2 separate regions of the Homo sapiens genome follow, and region 2 is linked to region 1. The links are contacts of gene promoters, found by promoter capture Hi-C in human tissues and cell types (Jung and others, 2019). All regions are on one chromosome and are shown on one strand. The core of a region is centred on a gene start or on the middle of the fragment in contact, and the rest is flanking DNA. Distances in the headings are between cores, read along the strand shown.

The links. Contacts are between HindIII fragments. The study calls those that stand out against the background at their distance.
Region 2: a fragment that was not itself captured here is called in contact with the fragment with the promoter of DCHS1 in region 1 in 1 of the 25 tissues and cell types used here (spleen).

What each region holds. Positions count from the first base shown.
Region 1 is chr11:6,652,335-6,657,082 of GRCh38, reverse strand. DCHS1 (dachsous cadherin-related 1) reads left to right here and starts at 1,274. Exons shown (of 21, transcript NM_003737.4): 1 at 1,274-1,520. The HindIII fragment of the contact is 6,359 bases long and covers 1-4,748 here.
Region 2 is chr11:6,300,728-6,305,785 of GRCh38, reverse strand. No RefSeq gene overlaps it. Among named protein-coding and RNA genes, the nearest start is that of CAVIN3, 17 kb to the left of the region's middle. RefSeq lists an enhancer at 1,527-2,245. The HindIII fragment of the contact is 3,077 bases long and covers 1-2,813 here.

The DNA of each region.
Region 1 (4,748 bases), core at 25-2,524:
CGCCGTGGATATGATCAAGGACCCCAGTCTCTCCCTCACTCCTCTTCCAAAATCACACTCCCTTCTTCTTCAGCTGAAACTGTGTTCCTTCTCCACAGAAGTTCCTGATTTCTTTGTGCCATTTGTACACATCTCAAGTCCAGAAAACCTGTTTTTCTCACAGTCTACTCGCAGTCCTAAGGAAGAAGGACAGGAGTCAGAACTCTTCCCAGTTCCTTTAAGATTGCTTGCTCTTTGTCTCTGTCTGATTTCCCCTCTCCCCATATTCTCTCCCAAGTTGGTTTTTTGAGCCCCTTCCCACTTCCCTGCCCGGTTTCCTCCTCACTTAATTTTTCTAGGGAGTATATCGTGAGTGGGACCACCATCCCCAAAGCTCTTCTTTCCAATATCTCCCGATCTCTACCCTCAAATTTGGGATAAAGAGAAAGTGGGGGAAAGGGAGCCTGGGGGTGAAGGAGAGAAAAGAGACAGAAATCATGGGATAATGAAAAGTGACTAACAGGGGAGAAGGCCGAGGTTACGATGGAAGAAGGGGAAGAGACAGCGGGTAGTGAAAAGGGCAGGGGTGAGAAAAGGGAATGAGGAGAAGGCGTGAGGAAAAGGGGATGATGAGGTGAGGCGAAAGACACAGGGAGAAGGGGATGGGGAGAAAGGTGGGGAGAAGAGACGGGGAGAAAGGGATAGGAAGAAAAGGATAAAAGGAGAGGTGGGGAAGGAGAATCTGATGTAAAGAGGCTGGAGAGAGATCAAGCAGAAGGGGTAAGGAGAAGAGAAAGGGGAGAAGAGCTGGGGAGAAAATGATGGAGATGGGGCGAGAAGAAGAGGATGGGAGAAAGGCAGAGGGGAATGGAGATGACGGTTGGGAAAAAGAAGGGGCGAGAGGGAGACCAGGGCACTGAGGGAGAAGAGGGGAATAGGGGATGGAAAGAAGATGGAAGAGGAGGAGGTGAGCAGCAGGGAGCGGCGAGAAGGGGAAGAGACGAGAGGGCGTAGAGAACCGAATGGGAGGAGAGGACGGGAGAAGTGACGGGGAGAAGGGAAGGGAACCGGGACGGGGGCGCGGCGCGGCGCTGGGGCCGGATCCGGAGCCGGGGCCTGGGGCCGGGAAGTGGAGGGGCGGAGGGAGGCCGGGCGGGCGCCGGGGGGAAGGGGGGGCGGCGGCGCGGAGCGCGGGTGGGGGCGGGGGCGGGGGCTCCGCGGGCGGAGGGGCGGGGGCTCGGGTTACCGCGCGGAGGGCGGGGGGAGGGGAGGGGAGGGGGCGCGGGGCCGCGGCAGCGGAGCTCGCATCCTCGGCGGGGCGGCTGTGCAGGAGGCGGCGCCCGGGCGTCAGCGGACGGACCGATCGACGGCCAAGGGCGCGCGGACCGACGGCGGCTGCCCGGAGGGGATCGCGGGCCTCGGAGACAGCGACTGCGGACGATGCGCGGCCTCAGGCCCCGCGCGAGCGGGCGCTGCCCGGGGGGCTGACCGCGGCCGGACGGCGCCCCAGCACCGGGCGAGGGAGCCCGCGTCGCGCGGAGGTCAGTGCCCGCGCCCGCCCGGCCCGTCTGGCCGCGCCCGCCCTGCCCGCCGGCCTCCCCTGGGCTGCGGCAGCGGCGGCGGAGCCGGGGGCTTTGTTCTGAGCCGGAGACAATGGGGGAGGGGGGGCCTGGGCCTGCGGGACCCGGGCGGGCGTGAACGTGAGCGTGGGGGCAGGGCCTGGGGGTCTTTGTGTGCGTGTGTCATCGAGTCGGGGAGGGTGGCGGCGGGAGCGTGCGCCGGGGGTGTGGGGTGCGACAGCGTTGTGTTCCAGTGCATCGTCGGAGTGTGTCAGTGCGTGTCACTGGGAGGTTGTGTGTCCCTGGGCGTCTCTCTGGCTGTGTGTGCATGTGCGTGTCACTCTGAGGGTGTGAGGGTCAGAATGACCGTGTGTCATGGTGAGCGAGTCCCTGTGAGGGTGTGTTGCCCGCTCTGTGGGAGCCCATGTGTCAGAATGTGGAGGATGGGTGTGTGACAGAGACCAACTGAGACAGAGACAAAGAAACTGAGTGGGGAGAAGTACAGAGAAGCAGAGGAGAGGCAGGCACAGCCTGAAGTGGATGGAGGGGGGGGTCACCCAGACGTGTTCTGAGTGGGAGATTGGAGCAACTGGGAGTTTGTGTCTGGGATACCCAGCTCAGAATCCCGTGCAGGGGACAGAGCAAGGTCACCGCAGGCGTGGGTCCCACGTGGAGGGGGTGGGGAGAGGGAGGTCTAGAAGCACAATGAACTCAGTGTGGCGGGCTGGGCCCACAGCCACAAGGTCATAGGCCAGAAAAATATTGTCGCTTATGTCAACTTCTCAAATACCCATAGGGACACAGTCATAGCCCTACTCAACCCACAAGAGGACACAGTCCCAGGGAACACACATCCTCAAGAGATACCCTCACAGCCATCATACACTTCCAGGAAGCCCACCCCCAGGAAGCACCCCCAGTCAGAACCAACACACACCTACAGCAGACTCTATCAAGCCAACACACACCTACGGAAAATGCTCTCATGACAACACACACCCACAGGAGAAATGCTGCAACCAACATACTCCCACCGGTTCATTGTCAAGGCCAACACATACCATGGAAGACATTGTTACTGCTAACACTCTCCAGAAACACTGTCACCAGCAACAAACAAGTAGACCAGCACCTCTCAGGAGACATTGTCACTGCAATCCACATCCATCAGAAGCACTGTCACAACTGTCACAGCACATCTTATTAGGTTTACTTCCTTGGAGCTGCCCATACATAGTGGGTGTCCTAGAAGCCTGTCACTAACAGGAGGCTGTGCCACAGTTGCCCTTACCACACAGCCACTTGTACAACCCCCAGGAGACAGTCATGGATGGCATGCACACCACAGGAAGACCTGTCCCAACTTCTGAATAAACTCTGCTTAACTTATCAAGCTCACACCTTCACCCCTTCTCATACGTAGATCTCCCAGGTATACCCTCTTGTTCCCTGAAAACTTCGAGATCTGGATAGTGTATCCTGCCATGGTTTCTCAGTGTCCTTCAACACCACAGCTTCACAGATTCTTGACCTCCTTAGCTCCTGTTACCTTCCTCCCTCCCAGGACCACTCTGTAGAACTATTCCACCTTTAAAATTCTAAACTCTTGCATTCCTCTCTCTACCCACAACCTCCTATATCCTTCCAGCTTTCAGATGTTCTCGCTCCCATTACACTCTTTGACCTCATAATGACCTCTTGCCCTTGACCTCTTTGTTTTCTCCTACTCTGTTCCTTTCTGACTTTGTGCTTTCTTTCCAGCTCATATGCTAAGGATCATCCCTTCAACCACTCCTTGGCCACTGTGTTTCCTTGTCTTCTATACTCATCCCTCAAATTATTGCCCCTAACTAGAATGATTTCTCAACCACACCAGGGGACGCTTCTATAAATTCATACTTCTAAAAAATTCAAACCTCAACTGGGCCCTTCATAAATAAATAGATGATTTTTTTTCTATTTTCTTCACACTCATTACCCCACATCCCTCACACCATTGTTTTCAGTAGATTAATTAATCAAAACGCTAATTCATTCATTTAACAAACACATACTAGGCACCTACTCTGCTAGGCATTGTGATGAGAGTTGGCAGCACAAGTGTGAACAAAATGGACATGGTCCTTATCCTCATGGAGCTTACAGGCTGTGGAGTGAGTGTTGTAACACAGCAGCACACAGCAGAGTAACCTAGGCCAGTGTAGGGAGGTCAGAAGAGTCTTTCTGGAGGAAGTGGCATTTAAACTTAAACTTGATGGAGTGGGTGGAGAATATGCCAAGCCAAGGGAGCAGCATGTAAAAGCCCACATGAAGGAAAATAGTGTGTGTGTGAGGGATAAAGCAGTTCAGTGAGCCTGACACTTACAGCATGAGGTGACGAGAGAGGGAGAGTCTGTGGGAGAGGTAAATGGAGGCTTAGACCATGCAGGGTCTAGGAGGCCACAGAAAGAAATTCATTTAACCCAAGAATAATGGAGAGTCACCAAATCATTGGAAGCTTGGAGCGATATGATCAGATTCATTTTAGAAATACCACTCTGACAGCCATGTGGAGACTGGAGAAAGAGCCTGAGAAGAAGGACAGTTGGCTGTTGCAGAAACTCTGGAGGGTATAACACTGGCCTGAACTGGAGTAGTGGCCGGAGAGAAGGAGAAAGTGGATGGTTTCAAGAGCTCTTTAGGCAGTGGGATCAGCAGGGCTCAGTGACAAAGCAGACATGGTGGGGTGAAGGAAAGGAAGGAATTAAGAGTGGACAACCTGGTCTTCTGGCTCACTGAGGAAATTGAGGCCATCTGTTTTGAATTCCCTCAGATTTCTGCCTCCTCCCTCAAATTTTATCTGCATCCTCTTCAATCTTTTCTCCTTCCTTCCTATAAGAACGAAGTGCTGTCTCTTCTACTTAAGGCCAATCCTCTACCTGTGTTACGGATCCCATCCCCTTCCTCTTCCACAGGGACCTCACTCAACTGATTATTCCATGTGTTTCCCACGTCTCCAGTTCCTTCCTTTCTCCCATTCCTCCTGGGAGGACATAAAGATCCTCCAGCCTCTCCTATCTTTCTTTAACCCTGTAATACCCCGTTAACTAAGAGGCTTCCTCACTTTTCTTCACTGTCACATTTTGTGAAAGAGTCTTCTGCATATAGCTGTTCCTACTTCCTCACTTCCCATTTGTGCCTGCCCCTCAAATGTAACTGCTTTCCCTAGGA
Region 2 (5,058 bases), core at 26-2,525, 350 kb after region 1:
AGGGCTGTGGACTCTCTCTTAGGCCTTTCTTATAAGGACATTAATCCCTTTAATTCTCATGATCTAATCTCTAATCACCTCCCAAAGGTGCCACCTTGTAATATCATCACCTTGTCTGTTAAGATTTCAACATATGAGTTTTTGGGGGACACAAACATTCAGATCATAGCACAACTTCAACAAAGAGCAAAGCTACAAAAGCCAAACCCTAGAGGGAATCTCCGCAGTGTGGTAAACACTCACTTAGCAGATTGACTTTTCAGCACTGATTAAAGGAGCAGCCACATATATTCAAATAGAATTATGCTGTACTTTACTGATCCTTGCTCGCTGATTCACAGCGAACTGACCCAGCACTATGCACTCCATCTAAACTAGGTCAATTACCCTCTTTTCTCTAGACCAGTTGTTCTCAACTGCAGGCATACCCTCCACCACCGACCCCAGGGGGGACATTTACCAATGTCTGGAGACACTTTTTAGTGTCACAACTGGCACCTAGTAGACAGACATCGGGGATGTTGTTAAACGTCTTACAATGCACATGATAGTACCTTACAACAAATAATTAGCCTATCCAAAATGTCAATATTGCCAAGATTGGTAAACCTCAACATTTGATTGATGCCTGATGTGACCATTAAACAGACTATTTCTTACATGGGTATCTATAGTTAAGAATTGGTGAAAGATATTCTGCTAGTATGTGATGAAGGGTGAGATGGGGGAGCTTTAAGTTTTACCACTTCTTTTTCTTTTTTTTTTTTTTTAGTTTTACTTATTTTTTAAGTTAGAAGATATTGCCTAGAATTCATAAAAACATTGCAATGATACAGGTTGTAATTCCGGATAAATTGTTTGGTAAAGAGAAAGTTGAGTTTATTATTTTTTTCTTAGTTAGTAATAAACTTATTCTATGCCTCTTTCTCTACAGTACTCAATATAAGAGACTGTGCTGAAGCATTAATGTAACAATATTTATTGTTAGTCAGGATGAATCCCTCACTCACTCTGGAGTCCTGTAATACAGAACAAGCTATTTCTGTTGTGAAGACTCTACAATTCATGCTTCTGCATATGATCCATAATGGAAAAAGATCCAAGTTAATTTAGGATGACCTTCTACCTTGCCAATGATAGCACATCAGACAAACTCCAGGAATGTGTAGAAATATTCTCACAAGGATGTGGTGAAATTTTGTTTTTTGTTTTATTTTCCAAAATACTAGTACTCATTATCAGAACACCTTTCTGTGTCTGTGGTATAATAGAACAGGGTTCTGGAATGTTCCCCCAAAAAGGCACCAGTGAACATATACCATCAGAGCCACCAGCAAAGCAAAATAAAAGGGAGTGAAAGCTTATAAGATTATTTGCAAAGAGTAATTTTTAGGGTAAGACACAAAAGGGTAGGAGTACGTATATATCTGTGTATTTTTCAGAGATATCTTAAAAATTAGTTTTTTAGAGGGTTTAATTTTGTATTTTTAAAAAAATTATAAAAATTTTGTCATTCGTAAGTTATTTACATATATATGCTGCTATCAAATGCACTTGTCACCTGTAGAGAACAACTGATGCCAACACGAAGTTAATAGCAATAGTAAGTGAAAATAGAAAACTGTCACATGGTAGTGTTATTAAGGGGTCTCACCATATCACCATGTCATTAATTTTAATATGGATTTTAATATTTAATATGATACAAATTAGCTTTAACTGTGATTTTCTGCTTTTGATTTAGGTGTGATTAAACAGAAAGGGGGAAGAAACATAGTGTGGATCCGGTGCAGACACACATCATCCCCACAGCGGGAAGTTAAAAAGGGGTTTAATGATGTAGAAAAGGGCATTCAGGTCAGTGCATGCTGACCAGGCTTGTCAGCAGTTTGTCTGAAAGGAACAAGGAGGATTTAAAGTCACAGAGACTCATGTCGGCTTAAGAGTCATGCCTCTCACGAACATCATTGTTATGCAAAGGGCACCTGTACAGCCAAGTCACTGTCCATAGTGCCTGGTTTGGTGATTTGTTCAGTGTAGGCAGGACAAAGCGGAGGGGGCAGAGAAGGCTTCTGCGACAGGGAAAAGTACTAAAATGCTTAGGAGAAGCTGGGTGGTACCTGGGGCCCCTTAAGAGTGATTTGAGGAGGTAGATATACCTCTGGAACAGATTAAGCACTGGCAAAGGCTTATAGATCATTAGGGCTGTTGAATGTTTCCATAAATTTTGTTTCTGTTTAATTTAATACCCCAGAAGGTGGTCAAGAGGGGATATTCAGAGACTCCTGAAAAAAACAGAAGTGAGTCTTGAATATTTTGTTCAACTCTAATGGGTTAAAGAAAAGCCAAACAAATCACTATTCTCATGGTATGGATGGCAGCTGAGTTGTATATAGGAACTCTCCCAGTGTACATTTCAAACATTACAGTAATTCAAAGCTTATTGCAGACATGTTATCAAAGTTAACAAGAACTATTAGAAAGAATAGAGGTAGGCCGGACATGGTGGCTCACGCCTGTAAACCCAGTATTTTGGGAGGCTGAGGTGGGCGGATCACCTGAGGTCAGGGGTTCGAGACCAGTCTGGCCTACATGGTGAAACCACATCTCTACTAAAAATACAAAAATTAGCTGGGCAAGTTGGTGGGCACCTGTAATCCCAGCTACTTGGGAGGCTGAGGCAGAAGAGCCACTTGAACCTGGGAGGCAGATGTTACAGTGAGCCGAGATTGTGCCACTGCACTCCAGCCTGGGTGACAGAGCAAGACTCCATCTCAAAAAAGAAAAAGAAAAAAAAATAGAGTTAAACACAGGACAAAGAAAGCATTTTTCTGGTCAGGTAATGGGCATCAACATGTCCTGTGGACTTCGATTATCTGAGGTTGGGGGTTGGGGATTGAGGTGGCTAACACGATCTACAGTGGGAAGCTCTTGGGCATATGGGCAAAACCTTAGACAGCTACCTCATGGACTCTTTAATCTTCCCTGAAGTTTACAGAAGCTAAGGCTTTTCTGGAAAATAAGGGGAGACTCCTCATATCTTTTAATATGGCTCTGAGCCAGCATTATGTGGGTCCTGGGCCAGCTCTCAAAACAACAGCCCTGAGCAGATAAGGAAAATAAAACACAAGACACTGACCACTTTCAGTATGTTATGCTTCCATTCATCCTTATGGCCCTATATAAGCTTTAATTTTTACCAGAAAGAGAGCTGCCTCTATCACCCCTCTAATGGAGCCTCCTCTCCATCCAAATACTGTGCTATTTGGCCTGCAGTTGAGGGGTTATCTAGCAGGCCGCGCCTTCCAGGGAGGGAAGGGTCTGTCAGGAGCTACTTCCTAGATGGCTTCGCAGTGATCAAAGGAACCAGGGCTGCCTTTGAGTTCAGTGATTGTTGCCCTCCATCCCCCTATGGCTGTAAGAGACTACAACCCTGGAAAACAATCACCTTTGAACAACATTGGAATGGAACTCGGATCAGATCTTGCCATGTGGACAGCCTCGGGTTTTTGGTATATTGCTCATTGCTCATTTGGGTGGCACAGTTACAAAAAAGGACAAAAATGATCAGGAAGCGACAACCCCGAATTTGGGTCTTTTCCGTGTGTACAACTTAACTATTGCCTCTGGAACGACAAGAGGCAGCATATGGATTTTTGCTTTTGTGGGGATGGTTTTACAAGTAATTCCAGTAGGTTACTCTGCTACGGTGCTTGACAGCAGCACCCTGGAGGGCCATACCCCTTCCTCCTTGCTTCCCTGAATATTTGAGATGTGCACAGCCTGCCGAGCAGGTGTGTAAGACTCATTCTCAGGCGGTACTTGTCAGCAGAGGGCTTTTTAGACCCATCAGGAGGATATCTTGCAGGGGCTCTTAGTGGTATTGTGTTTCCAAAAAGAAGGGTGATGGAGTGGGGGTACATCTGTTGAGCCAACAGTTATAATTAGTCATGGTAGATTTTAAAAAGAGCTGTGTATTTAGAATTCACATTTATGATGTGGTCTCTCTTGTTCTGGCAAGATACATTCTGAATTATGTAAAGGATTCTGAGATTCTGGATGTGCTGAATGTGGAAAAGCATTGTTCAATTACATTCTTATCATGGGCCCTGTTCATTACACATCCACAATCACCATGTCCACAGTGTCCGTGGAAATTGGGTTTTCACATAATTTTCCACAGCTGTTTTCTAATTTGATACCCTTAAATGACACTGTAACTCCCTGTATGATGACTGCCAGAACCTAAAGCCCCCAGGCAATTTTCTAAAGAAACATTGATAATAAATATTGGGGTGGTAGCCCGATAAATAGCATCTCTGTTCCCTAATAAAGTTGGAATAGAAGTATGTGGCAACAGTAGACTTCCCAATCCTGAACTCCTCTGGTATCAGAGAGATTTGCCAAGTTATAGTCTGACCTGAAAAACCAGAGTCAAGCAGCCATCAGCACTACCGCTCTGTAGATAGGAAGATTCCCAGAGGGAGAGAAAGAGGGCAGGAGGACAGGGCTGGGCCACACACACCCAGTTCCCCTTTCAAGTCAGGCAATTCACTTGAGAGGCATAAGACCTAGGGTCAGAGGGTTTAGGGAAAAATCCTTCTCATGAAAGCAATAGGTACTGCAAAGGAGCCTTCCTCTACTAACACTATTTTCTCAATTTTCCAGAAATTTCTTTTCCCCAGCTCAAAATAGCTTTGTCCTAAATTAGATGATCCAGAAACAAAGGACTGAGTCATGATAGGCTGTATATCAAACTGTTAACAATGACACACTTGTGTAAAACTTTTTAATTTGTTTTGTTCTTTTTTTTTTTTTTTTTTCAGAGACGGATTCTCACTCTGTCGCCTAGGCTGGAGTGCAGTGGCCGATCTCGGCTCACTGAAACCTCCGCCTCCCGGGTTCAAGCGATTCTGGTGCCTCAGCCTCCTGAGTAGCTGGGATTACAGGCCAGTGCCACCATGCCTGGCTAACTTTTTTGTATTTTTAGTAGAGATGGGGTTTTGCCATGTTGGCCAGGATGTTCTCGAACTCCTGACCTCAGGTGATCCGCCTGTC